Regions from separate parts of the Homo sapiens genome. Here region 2 is linked to region 1. The links are contacts of gene promoters, found by promoter capture Hi-C in human tissues and cell types (Jung and others, 2019). All regions are on one chromosome and are shown on one strand. Each heading gives the region's core, a stretch centred on a gene start or on the middle of the fragment in contact. The rest is flanking DNA. Distances are from core to core; before and after follow the strand shown.

Region 1 (5,623 bases), core at 1,263-3,762:
AGCCTGGGCGACAGCAAGAGCCTGTCTCAAAAAATAAATAAAATAAGAATTAAAAATTAAATTTTAGGCTGGGCGCAGTAGCTCATGCCTGTAATCCCAGCACTTTGGGAGGCTGAGGTGGGCAGATCACCTAAGGTCAGGAGTTCGACACCAGCCTGGCCAACATGGTGAAACCCATCTCTACTAAAAATACAAAAATTAGCCAGGTGTGGTGGCACATGCCTGTAATCCCAGCTACACTGGAGACTGAGACAGGAGAATTGCTTGAACCCGGGAGGCAGAGGTTGCAGTGAGCCGAGATAATGCCACTGCACTCCAGCCTGGGTGACACAGCGAGACTCTGTCTCAATAATAAATAAATAAATAAATAAGTACGTTAATAAAATTTTACACTATTTGGGTGTGGTGGGGTGCAACTGTAATCCCAGCTACTCAGGTGGCTGAGGCAGGAGAATCATTTGAACCTGGTAGGTGGAGGTTGCAGTAAGCCAAGATCACACCATTGCACTTCAGCCTGGGCGACAGAGAGAGACTCCATCTCGAAAAAAATAAAAATAAAAATGAAAATAAAATTTTAAATGGGTGTAACTCTGTGGAGGGAAAAAGAAGGCTGAGAAAGGAGATAATGGTGACTGAGCGGTTTTAGATAAGGTAGATGGGGAAAGTGATGGGGAATTAAGGAATGAGCCACACATCATCTGGGGAGAGCACATCCCAGACAAAGGGTACAGCCCGTGCAAAGGCCCTGAGGCAGGACCGCACCTGACAAGTGAGAGGAACAGCGAGGAGGCCTGTGTAGCTGCAGCAGTGAGGAGGGGGAGAGAGGGAGCAGGGGAAGGTGGGGACAAGGCAGAACAGGACACGCAGAGCCTTGTGGGCCTCAAGAAGGACTTGGGCTTTAATTATGGGACATCTTTGGGAAGTGTTTTTTTTTTTTTTTTTTTTGAGACAAGATTTCATTCTGTCGCCTAGACCAGAGGCAGTGGTGCGATCCTGGTTCACTGCAGCTTTAATATCCCAGGGATCAACCGATGCTCCCACCGCAGCCTCCGAGTAGCTGGGACCAACGGTGCACACCAACCACTCCTGGCTGATTTTTTTTTTTTTTTTTCTCAAACAGAGTTTCACTCTTGTTGCCCAGGCTGGAGTGCAATGGCGCAATCTCGGCTCACTGCAATCTCCGCCTCCCGGGTTCAAGCGATTTTCCTGCCTCAGCCTCCTGAGTAGCTGGGATTACAGGCATGCACAACCATGCCTGGCTAATTTTTGTGTTTTTAGTAGAGACAGAGTTTTCTCCATGTTGATCAGGCTGGTCTCGAACTCCTGATCTCAGGTGATCCACCTGCCTCAGCCTCCCAAAGTGCTGGGATTACAGGTGTGAGCCATCGTGCCTGGCCTGTTTTCTTATTTTTTACAGCAATGGCGTCTCACTATGTTGCTCAGGCTGGTCTCCAACTCCTGGGCTCAAGTGGTCCTCCTGACTCTGCTTCTCAAAGTGCTGGGATTACAGGTGTGAGCCACCACGGCCAGCACGTATTATTATTTTTATTAATATTATTGATGAGTTTCATACGTAAAGGATCACGGGCACTTTAGAGCTGGGAGATACTTCAGTATTTCTCCTATCCTGTCATTATCAGTGCGAGCCAGTCTCCCTCCTTGTTGATGACATTATTGATGAGTTACATACTTAAAGGGCCAAGGACACTTTCTATGTGTAAGCACCCTATAGAACTGGAAGATACTTTTACCATTTCTCCTGTGCTGTCGTGATTAGTGGGAGCACTTTGTCTTGCTCTTGATTAATTATTATTAGTGTTGTTATTATTAGGTGTTTTTTTTTTTTTTTTTTACCAAGACGGAGTTTTGCTCTTGTTGCCCAGGCTGGAGTACAATGGCACAATCTTGGCTCACTGCAACCTCCGCCTCCTGGGTTCAAGTGATTATCCTGCCTCAGCCTCCCGAGTAGCTGGGATTACAGGCACCCCCCGCCACCGAGCCCAGCTAATTTTTGTATTCTTTAGTAGAGACGGGGTTTCACCGTGTTAGCCAGTCTGGTCTCGAACTCCTGACCTCAAGTGATCCACCCACCTCGGCCTCCCAAAGTGCTGAGATGACAGGCGTGAGCCACCGCGCCCAGCCATATTATTAGTGTTATTAATATTATTGATGAGTTACCTACTTTAAGGATCACGGGCGCTTTCAACGACAAGCCCCCTACATTATCCCAGCAACTTTTGACATTCTTCCGGCCGATGCCCTCCGCGGGAGCCGGCGGGGACCCCTGGGAAGCCGGCTAAGGCCCGTCCCGCCCGCAGCTCCGCCCTCGCCCACCCGTAGGCGGGGCCCGGGGCCTTCCGGCCTCAGTTTCCCCCCGCGGCCCGGGGATGCGGGGAGGCGCCGGCTGCCCCGCGCGGCGCGGCCGCCAGGGGCCGCTGCGGAGCCGCCTTTGTGGTCCCGATGCCGGGGCGGGCGCGGGCGGGAGGAGGGCGCGGGGGCCCGGGAGGGAGGCGGGAGGCGCGGCCGCCGCTCCAGCTGCGAGTCCGCCCGCCGCCCGCCGCCGCCGCCGCCGGCTCGGTCCCGCGCCCGCCATGGCCCGCCTGACGGAGAGCGAGGCGCGCCGGCAGCAGCAGCAGCTCCTGCAGCCGCGGCCCTCGCCCGTGGGCAGCAGCGGGCCCGAGCCCCCCGGGGGGCAGCCCGACGGCATGAAGGACCTGGACGCCATCAAACTCTTCGTGGGCCAGATCCCGCGGCACCTGGACGAGAAGGACCTCAAGCCGCTCTTCGAGCAGTTCGGCCGCATCTACGAGCTCACGGTGCTCAAAGACCCCTACACGGGGATGCACAAAGGTGGGCGCCCGGCCCCCTCCCCCCTCTCCCCCTCCCTCCGCCTCCCACCCCACCTTCCGGCATCTTCTCTCCCCCATCACCATCCCTCCTCTGCTCACCTCCCTCCTCTGCCTGCCTCTGCCGGAGCATCGGTTCTTACCCCCTCCCTCCCACCCACCCCTCCTCCCCTCTCTGGGGGTGCAGCTGACAGATCCGAGCGGGCCCCCTCCCCTCCTCCGCCCCCTCTCCCTCCCTCCCCACCTTCCGGCATCTCCTCTCTCTCTCCCTCTCTCTCTCCCTCTCTCTCTCCCTTTCTCTTCTCTCCCATCTCCCTCGACCTCTCATCCTTCCCCCCACAGCACCCTCTCTCTCCCTCCCTCCCTCCCTCACCCTTCCATCCCCCAGACCCCCACCCCTTCCTCCCTCCCTCACCCCACTCTTTCCTGCCCGTTTGCCAGGGGAGCCTCGGGAACGCCGGCACCCCTCCCTGCCCCCCCACCCCCATTCATTCAGCCTCCCCAGGCCCCGTCGGGGAAGTTTGCACCTGCGGACTCCATTGCTTTGGTTATTTTCACAAAGCCAGGCCGGCGGGGCAGGTCCGGCCGCGGGGGACACGGATGCCCAGGACCCCAGGCTAATCGGTAACTACAAAGGAAGACGGGTTGGGGGCGCCCGGCTCGGGGGGACGCGCCCGCCTCGCCTGCCTCGGGTGGCGGAGAGGCTCCCGTCGCTGCCCACCCCCTGGCCCCACCACCTCCGCGTGGATCAGCATTCTCTCCTCCATTTCTCTGCCCTCCCCCTCCCCCGCCTCCACCTTGGGCTCAAGTTGAAACTGGCCGAGCCTCTTAGCAATGTGTTGGGGTCTCAGGCCCAAGACAATGAGCTTGGACGTGTCCATCTGGGCAGAGCCCAAATTCTGGGGTGGACAGGGAGGAGGAGGGAGGCGTGGGCGGCCTCAGGCCTGTCTGCCTCCCTCCCACTGGATTCTCCCTCCGATGGCATCCCGGGTGGGGGTGTCCGGCAATTGTATCCCCAGCCCTTGGTTCCCATCATGGGCCCAGCGTCTGAATTGGGGTGGCTTTGACAGCCTTCCGGTCAGGTGTTGGGGACTGGGGGTGCCACTTCAAAGGCCTTGTGCTGGACACCCCCGGCCCTCCCCCTCCCATCCTCCAGGAAGACCCTGGAGAGGCCTTGGGGAAGGACCGGGGCCCATGACCTATTTTACACCCACTTTTTCCCCAGCGCTGCGTGCCCGGTAAGCATGAATGCATGTTTATTGAATGAATGAATTGAATGAATGAATGAATGAATGAATGAATGAATGAAGGGGTTCAAGAAGGCCCTAGGGAGGGTCTGGTGAGATGGGGCCCAGGCCTGTCACTTCAGCTAGACCCTCCAGCTGGTTATCTTGAGGGAGGAAAGAAACCCCTCCCCATTCCCCATCTCTTTTCAAAACCAACCATCACACACACACACACACACACACACACACACACACAAAATTGGGCCTGAAAAATCTAACTCCTCCATGTGGCCTAGGAGGGCAGAGGGGCTCCCATGCGGCCCCCATAAGTCAATATCTGGAGTCCAGAGGTGATAGGTGGGCTTTTCCCACACGCCCCCACCCCTGGGTACACCCAAAGCACCCATTTCTAGAAAGATTCCCGTGGGAATGGGGGAGTCCACATGGCCCCCCAAACGGTTGCATTGAAAGGCCGCTGGTTGAGCTCTAGGTCGGAGAGACAGGTGGGGGTGCAGGGACTGGAGCATCCTGGTGACTCTTCTTCATCTTTTTTTTTTTTTCCTTCTTATTTTTAAATCTCTGGGAAACCTGGGCACGGGAGAAGTGAGGGGTGAAGGAGGGGCTGGGGCTGGGTTTTCACCTGGCCCTGAGCCTCAGTTTCCCTGCTGTCAACAGAGCAGGACCATGACGCATCCCCAGTTCTTTTTTTACAGGTTGGAGAATGTTGGGGTCCCTGGGGTACCTCGGGGGTATTTCCCATTTGCGGGCTTTCCTTGGAGGGTGAGAATTGAGAAGCCGTGTGCACGACAGCCGGCAATCACCCTCCACTTTTTAGGGGTCCCAGGTCCGTCTGTGTGTGAGATACAGGGGCTTCACCTCGTGTCGAAAATGGGTCCAGTACCCTCGGGGAAGTGAATCCCCACCTGCGTGGGGCCTGGCTGGACTTCACCTGGTCTTTGCCTGCAGGTGCTTGGCACGAAGGGGTGGGGGGGTGTCTTCAGAATCAGCATCTGTGATCCAGGTTTGCGTTTGGGGCTCAGCTGTGTGACTTCTGGCTAGTGACTGCCCCTCTCTGGGCCCTCTCTGGGCCTTGGCTGAAGGGAGGTGGAATGGTGAATGGGAAGTCAGGATTTTTGGGGAGAGGAGTGAGTTCAGACACCTGCCACCAACATGACCTTATTAGGGCTGTTTCTGGGAGCCCTGGCGTGGTTTAGTGTGCCTGTTCAGAGTGGCAGGGCCTTGGGGATATGGACCCCAGGCCTGGAGAGAAATCCCTTTCCCTGGATGCCCGGCGGGGCCCATGAGACTGGGCACAGGAGATCTGTAAGGAGTAGAGTGGGGTGGGATGAGAACACCCTGGAGGTGCACCCGGCTCCTGGTACAAGCCCGGAGGGGGTCAGCTGGTACCACCTCTAGCCCTTCCTTGGTGTCCAGGCTGCAGGGACTTGTTTGATTTCCCCATGGAACCCATCGCCATGGAGGTGGGCTCCGAGTGACAGCGCATTTCTGGGAAACTGAGGGCTTGAGAGACATACCCTGGGTCCCACATTT
Region 2 (5,623 bases), core at 1,407-3,906, 280 kb after region 1:
AAATCCTCCTATGCCTCCTCACTCAACTACTTGACAGTCCCAAAGGCCCTTCATGACCATCTCCCATCACCTCTTCCCTCTCTAGCTCCACTCCAGCCACACAGGCCTCCTCGCTGTTCCTCCAACACGCCAGGCCCAGTGCAGCCCTAGGGCCTTTGCATTTGCTGTGATCTCCATGAGGAACATTCTTCCCTAGATGTCCCCACGTAGCAGGCCAGGCCTCACTAACACAGGCCTCCATAACTGTTTCAGCACTGACTGAGTGGTTAAGTTAAACATTAAAAGCTAAAAGAGCCAGTGCCCTCATACAAAGGCTGGAATGTAACAAAAGCCCATGAAGAGTTTTGCCCAGGCCTTTCCTGGGCCTTAAGGCATGACAAGATAATGAAGGAATTTTTTTTTTTTTGAGACAGAGTTTCGCTCTTTTGCCCAGGCTGGAGTGTAGTGGCATTATCTCGGCTCACCACAACCTATGCTTCCAGGGTTCAAGTGATTCTCCTGCCTCAGCCTCCCGAGTATCTGGGATTATAGGCATGCACCACCATGCCCGGCTAATTTTGTATTTTTAGTAGAGACAGGGTTTCTCCATGTTGGTCAGGCTGGTCTCGAACTCCCAACCTCAGGTGATCCACCCGCCTCAGCCTCCCAAACTGCTGGAATTACAGGCTTGAGCCACCACACCCAGCCAATAACGAAGGAATTCTTAATGTGACCCGTTTAGGATGAAACAAGTTTTACTGGGTGTCTGAAGAACTCCCCAAACCTCCATGATTTAGCAGGAGACAAGATAAGGATGATCACCCCAGCACCTGGACCCACTGGAGATGAGATAAGGGTGATCACCCCAGCACCTGGACCCATTTAGATTAAGTAAATTTACTGAGGTTCCAAAGGAAAGTCTTCAGGATTCAGATCTTAGTTATAGATTAAAAGAAGTTAGTCACTTTAAGTCTTTAGATGGATGCTCAGTTACATGTAGATGGAGAGCTTAGAGGGTATATAAGCTCTGGAAAACTTTGTCATTTTGAGTTGGTCTGGCGATATTTTCCAGGCCTTCTCCCTGTAACCGGTTACAGAAATAAAAACTCTCTTCCTCCCCAGTTAATCTGCATCTCGTTATTGGACCATGAGAAATAGCAGCCCGACCCTCAGTTTGGTCCAGGAACACCCGTGCTCATCCTCTTGCTTTCCTGGGTCTCCAACATCACTTCCTCATGGAAGCCTTCCCTGATCACAATGGACAATGTTACTCTTCCATCTCTTTTCACTTATTCAGCTTTATTTTTCTCCACGGCGCCTAAGACTCCTAGATATCATATTGGAAAGTATTGGTTTAGTTGCTTGTGATTGGTCTTATCCCTCATTAGAATAGAACTCTGAAGGCTGGGACTGAGTCTATCTTGGTCACTGTTGTATTCCCAGCACTTAGTGCAATGACCTGCACGCAGTAGGGCCTCAATAAAAACAATAACCGGCTGGGCGCGGTGGCTCACGCCTGTAATCCCAGCGCTTTGGGAGGCCGAGGTGGACAGACCATCTGAGTTCAGGAGTTCGAGACCAGCTGACCAACATGGTGAAACCCCATCTCTACTAAAAATACAAAAATTAGCTGGGCGTGGTGGTGGGCGCCTGTAATCCCAGCTACTCGGGAGGCTGAGGTAGGAGAATCGCCTGAACTCGAGAGGCGGAGGTTGCAGTGAGCCGAGATCGTGCCATTGCATTCCAGACTGAGCTACAAAGCAAGACCCTGTCTCAAAATAAATAAATAAAATAAAAACGACAACCGTGACAATAGCAGCTGACACTTATGTAGCATTTGCTACGCGCCAGGCACTCCATGCTCTTTACATTCATTAATTCATTCGATCTACATCACTACCCTGTGAGGTAGTTACTAAGATTGTCCCCATTTTACAGGTGAGGAAACTGAGGCACAGTTTGGGACTGTGCTTGGGAACTTGCTTGGGAGCAGCGTGAAGAGTTAGGAATCCAGGAAGTCTGGCTCCAGAGTCGGGCTCTAAACCACCAACGCTTTGTTGAATGACTTAGGATAAAAGAACACAGCCAAGGGGAGAAGGGACCCCTCTCTTTCCAGATCGGCTGAGAACCTGGCGGATGCTTCATCTCAAGACAGGCTGGCTATGGCATGCTGGCAGCCCTCTCTGGTGAACAGTGGCGTCAGCAAGGCTGCCTGGGCTTGACGAGGGCAGTGTAGCCACCTAAGCACAGGTGACCATCAAAGGAGAGTGACACCTTTAAAGAGGGGTCATCAGAAACCAGAGGGCAGGCCTGTGCGAGCTGGCAGGGCACTGGGGACCATTGAGACCCAACCGTACGACATAGGAGCTTCAGGACGTGAGGTGGGCACTCTTTCATGTAAAAAATCCCAGAGGAAAGAGATCGCCGGGACTCGAGACCCCTTAACCCGCCCCATCCACAGTCAACGAATCCCTGAGACCGGATTCCCTAACGAGGCGCTCCCGGTGCCACCGCCCGCCAGACCCGGGCCCCACACCGTGATCGCCGCCTCCGGGACGCCTCACCGAGCTCTGGAGACTCAGGACCCGTCGGCCCGGCCAGTAACCGCAGGCGCCTCTGCCACCACCGCTTCACCTGCCGCGACGCCCGCAGTGCGGTCTGGGGGCCGCCATTTTCTCGCCCACGTGACCGTGCCGGACGGCACCAACGCAGCCGCGGGTGAGACCTAGTGAGAGGCTCCGTGCATGAGGGAGGCCCGGAAGGCTGAGTCGGTGCTGGTGCCACAGCTCATGCAAACGCAGGAACAGTATTCCTAGTGCGTTCTTCGGGGAAGGGGACGGGCAACGTATGCCCTTTCATGGGAAAAAATTCTCTCCAACCTCCCCACTGCGGTACAAGAAGTGAGACTGGTTTGTGCCGATTCAGCGCCCTGCCTGGGCTGGCTAGCAACGGAGCATGCGCAGTGTTTCTAGGCGTGGTCAGACTCCAGAGGTGTTGGCCAATGGGCTCAGGGAGCTCGAACCTTAAGTAGGTGAGGAATAAAAAAAGGAAGAAATGCAGTCGTTCATTCATTCATGTATGTAATAAATAGTACATGGCCTTGAGGACAAGAGAGCCTTCAGCCCTTACCCTCGTACGCCTCCCAGTGTTGTTATAGAGACAGAAAATAACACGATAAGTAAATGCAATACCTATTAGATGGTGAAAAAGGCTAACGAGAAAAAATTCGGTAGCCAAGGGCGGTGTATGTATAGGGTGTGCAGTTTCAGGAAGGGTGGCCAGAATCTGAGGTGGTGACATCTGAAGAAAGACCTGAAAGAGGCCGGGTACGGTGGCTCACACCGGTAATCCCAACACTTTGGGAGGCCGAGGTGGGTGTTATCACTTGAGGTCAGGAGTTCGAGACCAGCCTGGCCAACATGGTGAAACCCCCATCTCTACTAAAAATACAAAAAGGCTTCAGCTTCCCGAGTAGCTGGGATTACAGGCATGCAACACCACACCAGCTAACTTTTTGTATTTTTAGTAGAGACAGGGTTTCACTATGTTGGCCAGGCTGGTCTCAAACTCCTGACCTCAGGTGATCCACCTGCCTTGGCCTCCCAAAGTGCTGGGATTACAGGCGTGAGCTACTGTGCCCTGCTTGCAATCTCTTATTTTTAAAATGTGGGTGACTGCCAGGAGTGGTGGCTCATACCTGTAATCCTGGCACTTTGGGAGGCTGTGGGGTGAGAGGATGATCGATTGAGCCCAAGATTCCAAGACCAGCCTGGGCAATGTGGTAAGCCCCCGTCTCAACAGAAAAAAAATTTTTTTTAATTTGGCTGGGCGCAGTGGCTCAGCCTGTAATCCCAGCTACTTGGGTGGCTGAGGCAGGAGAATCGCTTGAGCCTGGGAGACACAGGTTACAGTGAGTTGAGATCCTGTCACTGCACTCCAGCCTGGGCAACAGAGCAAGACTCCATTTCCAAAAAAAAAAAAAAAAAATCAACTGTGCCTGGTGGCTCATGCCTGTAGGCCCAGCTACTCAGGTGGCTTGATAGCTTGAGTCCAGGAGTTCAAGGATCCAGTGAGCTGTAATCACACCACTGGATTCCAGCCTGGGTGACAGAGCAAGACCCCATCTCAAAAAAAAAAAAAAAATGAGCAATTAATAAAAAAACATGGCTGGGCATTGTAGCTCACGCCTGTAATTCCAGCACTTTGGGAGGCCAAGGCAGGTGGATCACTTGTGGTCAGGAGTTCAAGACCAGCATGGCCAACATGCTGAAACCCCATCTCTACTAAAAATACTAAAATTAGCTTGGCCTAGTGGCGGGTGCCTGTAATTCCAGCTACTCAGGAGTCTGAGGCAGGAGCATCACTTGAACCCAGGAGACGGAAGTTGCAGTGAGCCAAGATCGCGTCACTGCACTCCAGCTTGGGTGACAGAGTGAGACTCCATCTCAAAAAAATAATTAAATAAAAATTAATGAAAAAACATAAAATGCTGTGCATAGCAAAGAAATCCTTTTGGAAGGCCAACTTCTATTTTAAGACAACATTCACAAATACTTATTGAGCAACTACTGTGTGCTGGACAGTGTCCTGAGCACAGAGGATAGTGTCCTGGGCACAGAGGACACAGGACAAAACAGACACAGTGTCTGGCCTCATGGAGCTGACACCCCCACTTTTATTTTTTTGAGACAGAGTCTCGCTCTGTCACCCAGGCTGGAGTGCAATGGGGCGATCTCAGCTCACTGCAAGCTCCGCCTCCTGGGTTCACGCCATTCTCCTGCCTCAGCCTCCCAAGTAGCTGGGACGACAGGTGCCCACCACCAAGCCCAGCTAATTTTTTTGTATTTTTAGTAGAGACGGGGTTTCACCGTGTTAGCCAGGATGGTCTCGATCTCCTGACCTCGTGATCCGCCCGCCTCGGCCTCCCAAAGTGCTGGGATTACAGGCGTGAGCCACCGTGCACGGCCCACCCCCCCTTTTTTTTTTTAAATTATTGTATTGCCTTCCTATGTGTTGGAAAACTGACTGCAGATAACAGGCATCACTGCAGCCCTCAGCTGCCTTGCGAGGACGTCATCTCAACATGTTTGTGGCTCAGGCTGTTTACGGAGGACTTCCCGTGGACCAGGAGCTGTGCTGACTCAGGAAGGCTACGAGGGCAGGGTGCCAGGTGTGACTGGCCCCAAGGATGCTCCCCAGGAGGAGATAATCCCAGGGTGCAGGACGCAGATATCGAAGCCTCAGCCAAAAGCAAGGCCTGTGTAAGTCAGAGAACTTGGCATCTGGCCTCTGTAGACCTTCGAGAAACTGATAGCACAGAAGAACCAAGTCTGCGTCTTCTGTTCGGTGGGTCCTCTGGGATTGAGCAAGTCCCTGGGGGGCGGAAGTCTGGAATCCAGGTATCTGCAGATCTGTGGCCTCTCTGGAGGCTCCAGGGGAGGATCCTTCCTGCCTCTTCCAGCTTCTGGGGGTGGCCGCCAGTCCTTGGTGTTTCTCAGCTTGTGGCTTCGTCACTCCAATCTCTGCCACTGTCATCACCTGGCCTTGACCCCTGTGTGTCTGTCTCTGTGTTTCTGTGTTAGAATCTCCCTCTCCTCTCCTTTTATTTTATTCTTCTGAGACAGAGTCTTGCTGTGTTGCCCAG

The links. Contacts are between HindIII fragments. The study calls those that stand out against the background at their distance.
Region 2: a contact is called between the fragment with the promoter of DOHH here and the fragment with the promoter of CELF5 in region 1, in 5 of the 25 tissues and cell types used here (IMR-90 fibroblasts, dorsolateral prefrontal cortex, lymphoblastoid cells and 2 more).

Annotation. Positions count from the first base shown.
Region 1 is chr19:3,222,149-3,227,771 of GRCh38, forward strand. It overlaps CELF5 (CUGBP Elav-like family member 5), which reads left to right and starts at 2,513. Exons shown (of 13, transcript NM_021938.4): 1 at 2,513-2,850. The coding sequence starts at 2,592. RefSeq lists a silencer at 2,334-2,453. The HindIII fragment of the contact is 19,492 bases long and covers 1-5,623 here.
Region 2 is chr19:3,498,018-3,503,640 of GRCh38, forward strand. DOHH (deoxyhypusine hydroxylase) reads right to left here and starts at 2,657. Exons shown (of 5, transcript NM_001145165.2): 1 at 2,544-2,657. It overlaps LOC105372245 (a long non-coding RNA gene), which reads left to right. Exons shown (of 4, transcript XR_936262.3): 4 at 1,918-3,034. RefSeq lists an enhancer at 2,659-2,768. The HindIII fragment of the contact is 49,740 bases long and covers 1-5,623 here.